Linked DNA regions of Homo sapiens: region 2 is linked to region 1. Evidence: promoter capture Hi-C in 16 types of primary human blood cells and fetal thymus (Javierre and others, 2016). All regions are on one chromosome and are shown on one strand. The core of a region is centred on a gene start or on the middle of the fragment in contact, and the rest is flanking DNA. Distances in the headings are between cores, read along the strand shown.

What was found. The method cuts DNA at HindIII sites, captures the fragments that hold promoters and counts their contacts. A CHiCAGO score of 5 or more calls a contact.
Region 2: a fragment that was not itself captured here is called in contact with the fragment with the promoter of ABHD2 in region 1 in 1 of 17 cell types (total B cells); the score reaches 5.7 in total B cells.

The regions. Positions count from the first base shown.
Region 1 is chr15:89,086,994-89,090,048 of GRCh38, reverse strand. ABHD2 (abhydrolase domain containing 2, acylglycerol lipase) reads right to left here and starts at 1,593. Exons shown (of 11, transcript NM_152924.5): 1 at 1,486-1,593. LOC124903573 reads left to right here. Exons shown (of 7, transcript XM_047433432.1): 5 at 1,117-1,214; 6 at 1,363-1,981; 7 at 2,108-2,488. The coding sequence ends at 2,322. RefSeq lists enhancers at 934-1,453, 1,395-1,574, 2,185-2,830. The HindIII fragment of the contact is 11,698 bases long and covers 1-3,055 here.
Region 2 is chr15:88,531,291-88,534,395 of GRCh38, reverse strand. DET1 (DET1 partner of COP1 E3 ubiquitin ligase) reads left to right here. Exons shown (of 5, transcript NM_001144074.3): 2 at 2,681-3,105. The coding sequence starts at 2,691. Among named protein-coding and RNA genes, the nearest start is that of DET1, 14 kb to the left of the region's middle. The HindIII fragment of the contact is 636 bases long and covers 1,538-2,173 here.

The DNA.
Region 1 (3,055 bases), core at 344-2,843:
TTAGTCATGGGCCTGTGATGACCAACCAGCCCTGTGACCACCCCAGGCCTCAGTTTCCTCACCTGTGCATTGAGGAGACTGAATGAGAGTCCACCTAATTAGACTTAGATAGAGATGAGCTCTATCTAAGGTGCCTTCAGCTCTAAAATGTCACAGTCCGTGCTGACTACCAGCTGTATATGGACTGCTTTCTGACTAGATGTTCAAAGATTAATTCATCCTAAAACACACAGCAAGGTGTGTTAAGATTCTTTCTCTGCCTCCTGACCTTTAGATTATTATGTTCTCTCTATTCCGGCAAATGACAGAGGGTAGTGAAGGATTTCTCTTTTGGACTCTGCTTAATGTGGCTGTAAGGAAACGGCCTTCGAAAAGCTCTGGGCACAGATCTTGTTGACTCTGCCAAACCTGCAGTCTCTCCAGGTCCCTCTGTGGAGCCTGTTCTTGGAACATGCCTTTGGATTTGGTTACTGGAATGCAGGTGAAACTGACAAACTGGAGGTCCAGCAACCAAAAAAGAGAGATTGGGAAGATTAAGAGAGCGGTCCATGGTAGTTCAAATACAAGGAGTTTCACAGTGGCTAAATAAACCTCTATCTTTTTGTATAATCCAGTCTCTTTGCTAACACCCACTCTTGAGAGCTGAAACCTCAAAATTCATTATGGGTGAATTCAACAGCCACTTGGAACCTAATGGACCCCCAGAAGTACTCTTCTCAAGCTAGGCATCAAAGGCCACTTAGAGTGCATTTGTGGGTAGAGAAGGCCCTTACAGATGGGTCATGCAGTCCTCCCTTGGGAGTCCTAAGCATCCGACACAGGTGGCTGTCATCAGGCCACTGCTTGGACATCGCCAAGGTCGAGGCGCTAGCTGCCCGGCCTGGCAGGCAGCCTCCTGCGCTGCTGGACAGCTCTAGCTGTGGGAAAAGCTCACGAAGGGCCTAGAACAGTGCCGGTCGCGGGGCCGAACTCGGTAAATGTGCTTCCAAGTGGGTCAAAAGCTGCCTTTCTAGAACTTAAACCCACTGGTCCTGCGTGAGCCCCTGGAGCCCCGAAACACAGAGGCCTCTCGGGTATCTCGGGCTGTAATCAGGCCCCTCGGCCCTCTCCTTCCAGGTGCGGATCCCGGACCTTCTTCGCCGAGCCTGAACCGGCAGACCCCTCCCCAGGCCCCTGAAGACCCAGGAGTGAGCACCAATGGGGGAAAGGCCGCGGTCGGGGTTGTCCCCAACCTCGGTTCCTCGGGCAGAAGGGGACAAAGGGCCTCAGGAAGGCGTATCCCCCGCCGCGATCTGGGCTGTCCCCACCACTGGGCAAGCCAGCCCCTGGGACCCCCACGGCGCCAGATGACAGGCCCCCCAGGATCCCCTCAGGCTGCGGCGTGATGGGCCGAGCTACGCCGGGGACCTCGGGGCTCGGAGATTCGGTTCGACGGGTCCGGGGTGCGATCCCCGCTCCGCGGAGCTCGCTCGGCCGTGGCTTTACCTGCGTGTGATTGACTACAGGTGCTCAGCTCGCCCCCAGTCTGGTTCCTGCAGCTCCCCGGCTGCCAGCGGCGCTCATGGATATACAGCCGGAACCCCTGGCCAGTGCAGCTCCCGCCGCTACCGGCCCCGCCCAAGTAACTGCCGCCACGCCCCTGACGACCGCTTCTGCCACGCCCCTAACCACGGAAACCGCTTGTTCATTGGGCAGTTCAGCCGCTTCTCCACTTGCCCCGCGCGCTCATTGCGTCTAGGAGGGGATCCATTGATCAGCGAAGCTGTTCCTCAGAGTGGAGGCGGGATTCTTAGGGGAGAGCTCCTCAGCAATTGGTTACATTTGACGGCTTTAGTCCAGGGACCCAGACGCTACTGGATAAGGCCAGCCCGGAGTGGGCGGGGAAAGGGGAGGAGGGCTAGAAGGTGGGTCGTGTTTGATGTCGATGGGGGCGGGGTGAAGAGACGGGTAATTGTGACCGCAAACTGCTTTAGAGGGCTGGGTAAGGTCAGCTGTCGACTGGGCTCAGAGGAATGAGGTCGGCTGGTAGCTCAGCTGCTGGTAGCTCAGCTGGGGCTCTTATGGGTCCAGGCCGACTGACTGACTCACGTGTACTCAAATTTCGCAGGGGTGAAATTTGAGGTCATATCCCGGGAGAGAGGAAGAAGGGTCGTGAGTCACCGAACCCGAAGGAGAGGAAAAGATGTGGAGGCAGCGGTCTATGGCCTCTTCCAGCTCCGGACGGGGGATGGGGACGCTCTGGGCAATACGGGCCTCAGTTATTGTCCCACTGTCCTTTCAACCCTTAACCAACCCAGTTGGAGGCCGCCTGGAAGAATGTAGCCTTGGAACTAGGGCCTGGAATTGGGGCTCCTACCGGTTGTGTGGGCTTGGGCAAGTCACTTAACCTTCCCGCATGCTCCCTTCACTTGGCAACTGAGGGTAACAATAGTAGTTGATGAGAAGATTAAATAAACTCTGATAAATGCCAACAGTGGCTGGCACTCAACAGGCATTCAATCAAGGCTGATTCTTCCCCCATCACCCACTCACCTCATCCGGCTGGGAAACTAGGCCCATTTCTAAAATTCTATGAGCCTGAAACTGCTTTTGCAATGGCATGTCGTGTACCAAGAATAGAACACTTGAGCGACTTGAAATGCAACCCCTGTAGGGCAGACAAGGCCACCCTACCAAGGCCCCATAGGGCTCGGAGAGAGGGAGCAGGGGATGAAATGAGAGGAGCGATTTAGTCAGAGAAGGGAAGTGGCATTTGTTACCATGTAAATTTTTCCCAACATATTTCAGGTTGTGACAAGGAACAGTGGGCTGGCTCAAGTTTTATGGAGCGTAACCAAATAACATCCTTTGAAGGCTGATCAGCACCGGACCAGAAATCATTGCATGAGCTCTATCTGTCAGAGACCCCTGAAACCCATTCCCCATTCTGAAGGTGTAGACATCACAGAGTGTGGACAGAAATAGCTTCTCAGGCCTGAATGTAGCCCCAGACCCTTTGTGTCTGTCTTTGAAAGAACTCACAGCCATGGTACATCAGAGTGAAGGAGAAGAAAGA
Region 2 (3,105 bases), core at 606-3,105, 560 kb after region 1:
GGTACTTTATTGTTAGCCAATTGGTTTTTCTCATATGCCTGTCTTATGCATTCTGTCTAGGTTTTATAGCTGCATTTTTAGTGGGAGAGAGAAGGTGGTGTTTGATTATTCCATCTTATCTGGCAACAGCTTTATAACTTAAGTTTTTCACTAAATGCCGTTGACTTTTATGGCCTGTGATTTAACTTTGATTTGAATCAAGGTATAATAAAACAATTAGAAGACTTTGCCATATAATAGATGCCCCATAAATATTAAAACATATTTTTATTGTGATTTTAAAATAGCCTAACATTTACCGTCTTAACTGATTGTAAGTGTACAGTTCAGTAGTATTAAGTATATTCACATTGTGAAATTGATCTCGAGAAGTTTTTCATCTTGAAAATCTGAAAAGTCTAACCCATTCAACAGCACCTTCTCTTTCCCCTCCTGCTAGTCCCTGGTGACCACCATTCTTCTTTGTTTCTGTGAATTTGATTCCTTTTTCTTTTTTTAATGATAAGTATTTTACATTAATTTTTTTTTTTTTTTTTTTTTTTTAGAGATTGGGTCTTGCTCTGTTGCCCAAGCTAGACTCAAACTCCTGGGCTCAAGTGGTCCACCTCAGCCTCCCAAGTAGCTGGGATTACAGGTGTGTGCTATGGCACCTGGCTGTTAAATTTGATTACGTTTGATACTTCATTTAAGTGGAATCATACAGTATTTGTCTGTTTGTGATTGGCTTATTTGACTTCACATAATGTCCTCAAGTTTCAGTGATGTAGCATATGTCAGAATTTTCTTCCTTTTGAAGGCCGAGTAATATTCCTTTGTGTGTATATACCATATTTTGTTTATCCACTCATCCATCAGTGAACTTTTGGGTTGCTTCCATCTCTTGACTACTATGAATAGCGCTGATATGAACATGGGTGTGCAAATATCTCTTAGAAATCCTGCTTTCAGTTATTTTGGATTTATACCCAGAAGTAGAATTGTTGGATCTTATGGTAGTTCTAATTTTCTTCAAGGAACCTTCATACTGTTTTCCTTAGTAGCTGTACTATTTTTCAGTTCCACCAACAATGCACAAGGGTTCAACTTCCTCTATGTCCTCAATGAAACTTGTCATTTTCTTTTTTTAAAAAAAGCAGTCGTTCTAATGGGTGTGAGGTGATATCCCATTGTAGTTTTGATTTACATTTCTCTGATGATTAGTGATGTTGAGCATCTATCTTTTCATATGCTTTGTGGCCATTTGTATAGGAGAAATGTCTGTTCCAGTACTTTGACCATTTTAAAATTGGGTATATGATTTTTTGTTATTGAGTTATAGGAGTTCTTTATATGTTCTAGATATTAACCCTTTATCCAATATATGATTTGCAAATATTTTCTTCCATTCTGTAGAAAGCCCTTTCACTCGGTTGATTGTGTCCTTTGATCACAGAAGTTTTAAGTTTGATGTATTCCCATTTGTCTATTTTTGTCTTGGTCGCCTATGCCTTTTGTGTCTTATCCAAGAAATCACTGCCAGATCTGATGTCATGAAGCTTTCCTCCTGTATTTTCTTCTAGTAGTTTTATAGTTATGGGTCTTATATTTAGATTCTTTTCCTATTTTGGGTTAATTTTTGTATAGGGTGTAAGATAGGGTCTGACTTCATTCTTTTGCATGTGGCTATTCAGTTTTCCCAACACCATTTGTTGAAGTGACTGTCCTTTTTCTATTGAGTAGTAGTAGGACCTTATCAAAGATTGTTTAACCATATATGCCAGAGTTTATCTGTGGGCCATTTCATTGGTCTGTGTCTGTCTTTATCCAGTACCACAATTTTTTGATTACTGTGGTTTGTAATATATTTTGAAATCAAGAGGCTTGAATCCTCTTTGTTCTTTTTCAAAATTATTTTGTGTATTTGGAGGCCCTTGAGATACCATATGAATTTTAGGATGAATTTTTTATCTTTGTGAAAAGTGCTATTAGGATTTTGATAGGGTTTGTATTGAATCTGTAGATTATTTTGGGTAATATGGATATCTTAACAGCCCAATAAATATTTTTTGCTGGAATGAATGCACATTGAATATGATTTTTTTGTTTGTTTGTTTGAGATAGAGTCTCACTCTGTTGCCCAGGCTGGAGTGCAGTGTTGTGACCACGGCTTATTGCAGCTTCGATGATCCAAGCTTAAACAATCCTTCCACTTCAGCCTCTCAAGTAGCTGGAACTACAGTCATGTGCCACCATGCCTAGCTAATTTTTATATTTTTTTGTAGAGACAGGGTTTTGCCATGTTTTCCAGGCTGGGCTTGAACTAGTGAGCTCAGGTGATCCACTTGCTTCGGCCTCCCAAAGTGTTGGGATTACAGGTGTGAGCCACTGCGCCCAGCCGAATGTGTCTTATACTGTTCAAATTTGTAGTTGTAGGTTTTTTTCTGTTGAACTTTCCCAACAGCTGAGCATACTTGGAAGGTATTCCTAGTGAACTAGATCCTTCCCTTAGACCTGTTTCTAGACTTAGAAATGTTAGGACCACTTACTCAGTATAATCTGGGAAGTAGTAATGCCAGTCACTGTCATCTTGGGAGCTCCTAGGTTCAGGATATAAGAAGAGAAATCTGTTTCACTTGTATATATTTATATTTTGGTAAATTCTGTTTCACTTTCTTGACTTCTGCTTTACTTTTCTGTTTAGAGATGTGATAATGGATCATCATGTTTCTACCATCAAGCCTCGAAGAATCCAAAACCAAAATGTCATTCACCGCTTGGAACGCCGGCGGATCAGTTCAGGCAAGGCAGGTACCCACTGGCACCAAGTCCGAGTGTTCCATCAGAATGTCTTCCCCAACTTCACAGTTGTCAACGTTGAAAAGCCTCCTTGTTTCTTGCGTAAATTCTCACCTGATGGACGCTACTTTATTGCTTTTTCTTCAGACCAGACATCTCTTGAAATCTATGAGTACCAGGGCTGCCAGGCAGCAGAGGACCTACTGCAGGGATACGAAGGAGAAATCCTGTCCAATGGCAATGACCAGCGGTCAGTGAATATCCGGGGCCGGCTCTTTGAACGCTTTTTTGTCCTGCTGCACATTACCAATGTTGCGGCCAATGGTGAGC